Regions from separate parts of the Homo sapiens genome. Here regions 2 and 3 are each linked to region 1. The links are contacts of gene promoters, found by promoter capture Hi-C in human tissues and cell types (Jung and others, 2019). All regions are on one chromosome and are shown on one strand. Each heading gives the region's core, a stretch centred on a gene start or on the middle of the fragment in contact. The rest is flanking DNA. Distances are from core to core; before and after follow the strand shown.

Region 1 (2,553 bases), core at 20-2,519:
CCACTCCTTGAGGCTTGCCCTCGAGCCCTGCATGCTCCTGGATGCTCTGACACTCCCTCAGCTGTGCGGTTGTCCTCTAATGTCCTGATGTCCTTGGGAACCCCCACTGCCTCTAACCTCTGCCTCACTCTCTCCTCACCTGGTCCTGGCTTCAGCCATGCTCTCTCAGCCCAGCTCTGCCTGTATTTCCTGGGGACTGCCTATTCCTGGGTCCCAGCCCCAGCCTCAGCCCCTTTGAGATCCCAGCTGCAGCTCCCACCGGCCGCTGACCCTTTGACGCCCCCATCTGCCACCTAGATCCTGCCCCCTCCCGAGGGACGGCAGAGCCCTCGCCCTCCCTTTCCAGCAGCCCCAGCCCAGGCCCCAGCAATTTTCACTCCTGAACCACCAAAGCCTCCATCATTGTGAGCACACTTGCTCTTCAGCTTTTGCCCCTGGGGACTAGCTGATCCCCGGAGGCTACCGACCTCTCGCCCACCCCCACCCCCCGACTTCTTGAGCCCTGCTGACCCTCAACCCGCCCTGCAGCCTCGGCCTCCGCCCCGGCCCACCACCTCGCTACTGCTGGAACCGCGCAGCCTGCTGGTGCTCCGCGGCCCCGCCTACACGCGTCTTCTCCACGGCATCGCCGCCGCCCGCGTAGACGCGCTGGACGCCGCCTCCTCGCCGCCCAATGCGGCAGCCTGCCCGTCGGCGCGGCCGGGAGCCTGCCTGGTGCGCGGCACCCGGGTCTCGCTGACCATCCGCCGCGTGCCCCGCGTGCTGCGCGCCGGCCTCCTGCTGGGCAAGTGACCGCCAGGGCCGGGACCCCTCGGATTCCCAGGTTCCTGCCCCTTTGGGGCTGCTGTGACTCCGCGACCTAGGAACCGTGGGCAAAGGGGGCTCCCCTGGGTTATTTATTTTCCCAATAATTTTGTGTGAGCTACAGAAGACCCCATACCAAATAAACAAAAAAATCTTTCCTTGGTTTTATATTTTTATTTTTTAGGGGCCAGATGCTTGGTTTCCTGAGGGGAGCGGCATCTAGGGTCTTAAATGAATGGGGTAGGCCCTGGAGGTCCGATTTCTGGGTTCCCAGTGGGGCAGAATCCAGGGCTCTTGAGGAGGTGGCGCAGGGGTTCTATCTGGAACCCTCTTGGATGGCGTGGAGTGATGCTGGGAGATTTAGCTACTGGCCTGCTAGGGAGGAAGGAGTTAAGTGACTCTTCTGTCACCTGAGCTGGGCATCAAATGGCCGGGTCCAGGTTCCTCTTGGAAGGGGCGGAGCCAGACCTGTCCTGGGCCTCTCCTGCAGCCTCAGGCCCGGGTGACTCCAGCGGAGGAGCTCTGGGACACCCTTGTCTAGGGAAGAGGTCTTACTGGCTGCCCTCACCTGACTTTGTGTCCCCAGGCCCCCAGCCATGGCCCTGTCCCTGCCTCTGGGCCCTAGACTTGGCTCAGAGCCCCTCAACCACCCACCGGGAGCACCTAGAGAGGCGGACATTGTTGGATGCACCGTCTGCCCCGCGTCCGGAGAGGAGAGCACGAGGTGGGGGCCGGGGCTTTGGAAGCTTGTTCCCAAAAGGGTAGGCGTGGTGGCAGGGGCCATGTGAGGGTAGGAGGTGCCATGGCTGTGATCGCCTGGGGACATAGGAGAGGCCACCAGGGTTGGGGTGACGGTAGGCTGAAAAGTGAGGTGTCGAGACTCACCCAGTCACCGCCCCCTGCCTCCTAGCCCAGAGCAGGCCCAGACCCTGGGACAGGACTCCTTGGGCCCTCCTGAGCACTTCCAGGGTGGGCCAAGGGGCAATGAGCCTGCCGCTCACCCCCCGAGATGGTCAACACCCTCTTCCTACGAGGACCCAGCTGGGGGCAAACACTGTGAGGTGAGCTGAGGTGACCCAGACCCCTTGTGCCAGCCCCACCTCCTCTCTGTCCCCTGGAGTCTGGCCTCCATACTGAGGACCGGGTGATGATTCTGGAAAGGTGTTGGGTGTCTGTAGGGGGAGGGACCTTCTGGAAAAGTGTTTCAATATCTGACCAACTGGGGAGACGTATTTCTTTCTTTCTTTTTTTTTTTGAGATGGAGTCTCTCTGTCACCTAGGCTGGAATGCAGTGGTGAGATCTCTGCTCACTGCAACCTCCGCCTCCCAGGTCCCAGTGATTCTCCTGCCTCAGCCACCCGAGTAGCTGGGATTACAGGCACATGCCACCATACCTGGCTAATTTTTTGTATTTTTAGTAGAGATGGGTTTTCGACTTGTTGGCCAGGCTAGTCTCGAACTCCCGACCTCAGGTGATCCACCCACCTCAGCCTCCCGAAGTGCTGGGATTACAGGCGTGCGTCACCGTGTCCAGCCATATTTCTTTTTTATTAAAAAAAAAAAAGTAGAGATGATGTCTCACCATGTTGCCCAGGCTGGTCTTGAACTCCTGGGCTCAAGTGATCCTCGGGCCTCGGCCTCCCAAAGTGCTGGGATTACAGATGTGAACCACTGCGCCCGGCTGAGAAGCATTTCATCATTGCTCCTGGTGTAGCCCCATTCTTCTTGGGGGGTACCCAGCCCCGCTCC
Region 2 (2,553 bases), core at 26-2,525, 1.3 Mb after region 1:
TTCCAGTGATTTCGACACAGCACTAGAGCTCAGAACTACTAGATTCCTTTATCCCATCCCTGTGTAATACACATGAGTAATGCTCAGTAAATGTTCTTGAAATGTATTTAATTAAGCCTACTGGATATGGACTCAATAATCCTCACCAAAATACTGCTATTCTTAGTATAAAGAGCAGGCCATTCTTCTCGAAGTTTGCTAGTCTCCCGCTAAAGGCTATACTAAGGCTAATCTTAGTGAAATTTTTTTTTGTCGCAAACAGTCACAGAGAAAGAGTTCATGATATACAAAATGATTTTATTAGATGCCAAATTTTTATTAACACCATTTTATTTCTTTTGCAGCTTTAATTTTTAACATTATAACATTTACTGGCTCCTCTGGGTGACTAAATATCTTCACATGCCCACTAGCTAAAAAGAATTTCTAAGTAGAACTCAACTGAAACTGCAAGCTACTGCTCTAAGAAATGCATACTTATGTTTATTTGCTCTCCTATATAATCCTGTTTACAAATAGCATAACTGCAAAGATTTATATGTAATTTCTAAATCCTTCAGGTTGCTCTACCATTCATCTTCTTATGTCTGGCAAGATAAACACTCTTAGTGAACACTTTGCTGCATCTCTTAAATGAGATTTGTCTCCAGTTTATTTCCTATAGAATAAGGGATGCACTTGGAACTGAAAAATTCCTTCAATTTCTAAAGTTTCCACATTCATACAACTTTTCTCCTGTAGGAGTTTGCAGGAGATTCCTATTGCCTATAGTCTTTCCCACATTTGCTACATGTACACAGATTTTTCCTAGTGTGAGTATACTTAGGTCAATTAAGGGATTAATACTGACAAAGGCTTTCCCACATTTATTGACTTCATATGATTTCTCTACAGTATAAACTCTAATAAAAAAATCTGCATCATTGCTAAAAGTCTCCCATGTTCACCACCTTCATACAACTTTTCCCCAGTATACATTTTTCTGATGTTAAATAAGGGAGGATCTATGAATGAAGTTTACCGTGATAAACACTGCTTCTCTTCTGTAAGATTTCTCACATGTATAGGGATTCATATGATCTAAAGGCTTTTCCACACTTACCACACTATTGGGTTTCTCTCCATTATGTACTCTTTGATGGGCAGTAAGATTCGAGCCTTTGCTAAAAGCTTTCCCACACTCACTACATTTATATGGCTTTTCTCCAGTATGAATTCTCTGATGTACAGTAAGGTTTGAACTACAGCTGAAGGTCTTCCCACATTTAATACATTCGTAAGGTTTCTCTCCAGTATGAATACTGTGATGTTGAAGCAGGGACGACCTATGACTAAAGGCTTTCCCACATATACTGCATTCGTAGGGTTTCAATCTAATGTGATTTCTCAAATGCATATTCAGTGATTCAAGCTGGTTGAAGGATTTCCTGCATTTCTAAACTTCAAACGGTTTTTCTTCAGTATGAATACTCTGATGTTGAACAAGAAATGAGAAGCTACTAAAGACCTTGAGACATTTGTTGCATTCATATTTTTTCTTCATACTGTGAATTCTTTGATGTTGAGTAAGGTGTGAGCTACAGCAGAAAGCTTTCCCACATTCTCTACATTCATAAGGCTTCTCTCCAGTATGGCTTTTCTGATGGTGAATGAGAGACGAACTATGAATGAAGGCCTTTCCACATATACGACACTCATAGCGTTTTTCTTGCGTATGAATTCTTAGATGCTGAATGAGAAGGGACACACGACTAAAAGACTTTCCACAGTTCATACATTCATACGGTTTCTCTCCCGTGTGAGTGCTCTGATGGTTAGTAAGTGATGAGCCATGGCTAAAGGCCTTCCCACATTCAATGCATTTGTAAGGTTTCTCTCCACTATGGCTTATCTGATGTCGTGTAAGGGATGAACCATGGCTAAAAGTCTTCCCACATTCACGACATTCATAGGGCTTCTCTCCTGTATGAATTCTCCAGTGGCGACTGAGGATTGACTGTTTGCCAAAGGCTTTCCCACATTCACTGCATGTATAGATTTTCTCTCTATTACAAGTCTGGGGAAGGGTAAGAGATTTGCTCTGGTTGAAGGCTGCCCCACTTTTATTAGAATTTAAAAGTTTCTTTCCACCATTTATTCTCTCACTTTTTATAACTGACTTTTTTGATAAATTCTTCTTTAATATATCATATTTGTGTGAATTCCCTTCAGCAGAATTGTTTTGTGGTTCAGAAAGAGTAGACTTTGAATGAAAGGTGCTTCTAAATGTGTCGCATTCTGTATATTCCAAATTCTTATTAGAATTTGAAAATTCATAACTTTGTTTTACAACTTTTTCCATTGTTACTGGTTGGGGTGAATCTTCATCATAAATATCCTTCTTTGTTGATAATTCCTTGTTTTCCCATCTTGATTCCCAATCTGAAATATATCAAGAAAGCAAAGCACTGCCTTTTTTTTTTTTTTTTTTTTTTTTTTTTTTTTTTTTTTTTTTTTTTTTTACTTCTTGAAAAAAGCTTCTACAGTGGAATTAGGAGAATTGGATAAGAAATG
Region 3 (2,553 bases), core at 22-2,521, 1.0 Mb after region 1:
AGCTAAATTACAGGCATATGCAGGCACAGAGGGTCATGGTAGAACCCAGAGCCCCAGGCACACTTGTACACACACCACTAAGTCACAATGGGACGCACACTGGTAACTTACAGCAACGCTTGGAGCTACAGATAGAATTAATGGTAAAACACACACAGCCCAAGAAGGATCAGAGCTGCTACACACGGTAACTCCAGACACATGTACAAACACTCCAACGTCACACTCAGACACACAGGGGTAATTTATATTTGCACAGGGAGCTACAGATGGAATGAGACACAACACGCACACAACCAGCTGCTCACAGCCACAGATTTGGAGCCCCAGACACACACAGGTAACTTACAGTGACACACAGAGCCGCGGTCAGAATTAGTGGTTAAGTTACACGCAGGAACTCTATCAGAGGCCCAAAGCTGCTGCAGGCTAGCAGCCCCAGACACACGTACACACACTTGCAAGACAATTCACAGTCGGAAGCACATGCGCCCACCTGGACCGGAAGGGGAGTAAGAAGTCAATTCCGAGCACACAGGACCCCCCGCCCTCCATGACCTCAAGCACGCGGTCCTGGAGAGACGCAGGAAGCCCCCACCCCCGGCAGCCCCGAGACCCGCAACAGCCAAGGACGGTGGGAGGGGGCCCAGGCAGGAGGGGGCTGCCTACTCCCGGCGCGCCCAGGGCTCCGCGGCCTGTGGGCCTGGGCTGGTCCCGATCCTGTCTCCATCCCAGGCCGGAGCCCCAGTTCGGCCTCGCGCTCACCCCTGGCTTACCAGGCAGGGGGTTGCCAGGCCTGAGGGCCCTCCCCGCCAGATGAACCCGCGGGCCCCCAGCCAAACCCCGCAACCCAGTGCGTCGCGGGCCGGCAGTGGCGACCCAGACCCCGGGCCCTGCCCTGCGTCCGCGCCCCACTCCCCAGCTGCACCCCTCGCCCGGGGGCCCCCTGCCCCGCCCCCACCCCGATCGCCCCGGCCAGAGCCATGTGCAGAGGCCCCCGACCTCTGCAGCGGCCGCTCCGCCCCCTCCCCAAGCCCGCGGCGCCCCCTCCCTCCGGTGGCCTCCCCCGCGCGCCCGGTCCCTGAGCTCTAGTCGCCCGGTCCTTACTCGAACATGGATGCGGCGCGGTGGGCGCGCCCCGGGCGCAGGGCAGGGCAGGGCAGGGCAGGGCTGGGCTGCGCGGGGCTGGGCTGCGCTGGGCGTCCCCGCAGGGCACCGGCCTGGCCTTCCGCGGCCGCCGCCCCCACCCGACCCAACCGCCCGCACAAAAGGCCGGAGCCGCCGGAGGCCGCCGCGGCGTCAGCGACACCCCCTTCCTTCCCCCGCCCCGCCGCGTCACGGCGCCGCCCCCAGCCCGGGAGGGAAGGCGGGGAGGGGCCGCAGAGGCCTAGAAGGAGGGAGAAGCCGGGGAGAGAGGGACTGGACAGAGAAGGGAAAGCAGAGGGGCAGAGAGACAGAGAAGGAAACAAAGAGACTTTATTAAAACCAAACATCGTGGAGGCAGCTGCCTGCCCGCAGGTTGGGGAGCCCCCTCCCCTAGTACCTAGAAAAGGGTCCCTAGCAACTACTATGCCCCTGGCCAGAAGCTCCTGGACCTCCCAGGGAGGAACCTGAGAGCCGGGGCGAAGGTGGGGGAGGACTGGAGATGCTGGGAAACCGAGGTGTATGTATGGGGGAGGGGGCCTGAAGCTGGCGGGAAGGGGTGGGGCCGGTTGGCCGCCTCCTCCTTCCCTCTCCCAGTCTCTGAGCCCGGGTTCCTGGTCCCAGGAGGTCCGGTGCCTCCGTTTCTAGGGACTTCCCAGTTTTGGTCAGCCAGGCCAAGTACCAAGTCAGAATCCAGCCTCCCTGGCTCTTATCTGTGCTGAGACCTTGCGCTCATCACCCCAGTGCTGGGAGTCCCACTAACTCGGTGGTAAGGGCTTTTCCCGGGGACAGCGCAGGAACGGGCAAAATCAGTCCTTTTACGGAAGGAGAAGCCCGGCCTCTAAGATGGGAAGTGACTTGTTGGGGTCACCTGGTAGGTAGGCGGCAGAGTTGGATTCGATCCTGCTCTGACGCCATAACCTGCGTCCCCCCTCCCCCGCCCCGTCTGCAAGAGGTCAGAGTCAGGTGGTGTCCTGGACTCCTGGCCCAACCACACAGAAATGCGAGTCCCACCTCACAGCTCCGGGGCTGTGGCTCCCCAGCGCTCTCCAGGGTACGCTGTCCCCGCCTCTTTTGAAAAAACTCCCTTCCCAACCCTCTCCATCAACCCTTCCCCTCCTCCTGCAAAAGAAGCCCACCTGACTTCTCCATTTTGATGAATGGCAGGCCCAGAACTTCAGAGTCTTTTCTGACCCTCTCTTTTCCTTCACACCACATCCAATCCGTCACAAACTGTGGGCTCCACGTATAAAATCAATCGCTCCATTCTAAACTCTTCTTCCTCCGCTGCCCACGCCCTGGCCCAGCCTCCATCCTCTCCTGCCTGATCTCCCTGCTCCCATCCCTGCCCCTACTGTCTGTTCTCACCTGCAGCCAGAGAGAGCCTGGGACCACCTGAGTCAGTTAACT

Evidence for each region. Contacts are between HindIII fragments. The study calls those that stand out against the background at their distance.
Region 2: a contact is called between a fragment that was not itself captured here and the fragment with the promoter of SYNE4 in region 1, in 1 of the 25 tissues and cell types used here (dorsolateral prefrontal cortex).
Region 3: the fragment with the promoter of GRAMD1A here is called in contact with the fragment with the promoter of SYNE4 in region 1 in 1 of the 25 tissues and cell types used here (spleen).

The regions. Positions count from the first base shown.
Region 1 is chr19:36,007,529-36,010,081 of GRCh38, reverse strand. It overlaps SYNE4 (spectrin repeat containing nuclear envelope family member 4), which reads left to right and starts at 1,269. Exons shown (of 8, transcript NM_001039876.3): 1 at 1,269-1,528; 2 at 1,715-1,865. The coding sequence starts at 1,401. ALKBH6 (alkB homolog 6) reads left to right here. Exons shown (of 7, transcript NM_032878.5): 7 at 529-962. The coding sequence ends at 792. RefSeq lists enhancers at 1,016-1,555, 1,556-2,097. The HindIII fragment of the contact is 19,934 bases long and covers 1-2,140 here.
Region 2 is chr19:34,684,120-34,686,672 of GRCh38, reverse strand. It overlaps ZNF302 (zinc finger protein 302), which reads right to left. Exons shown (of 5, transcript NM_001289187.2): 5 at 277-2,421. The coding sequence ends at 1,436. Among named protein-coding and RNA genes, the nearest start is that of ZNF302, 7.7 kb to the right of the region's middle. The HindIII fragment of the contact is 3,944 bases long and covers 1-2,553 here.
Region 3 is chr19:34,999,041-35,001,593 of GRCh38, reverse strand. GRAMD1A (GRAM domain containing 1A) reads right to left here and starts at 1,271. Exons shown (of 20, transcript NM_020895.5): 1 at 1,108-1,271. The coding sequence starts at 1,115. RefSeq lists silencers at 657-786, 1,057-1,436. The HindIII fragment of the contact is 31,318 bases long and covers 1-2,553 here.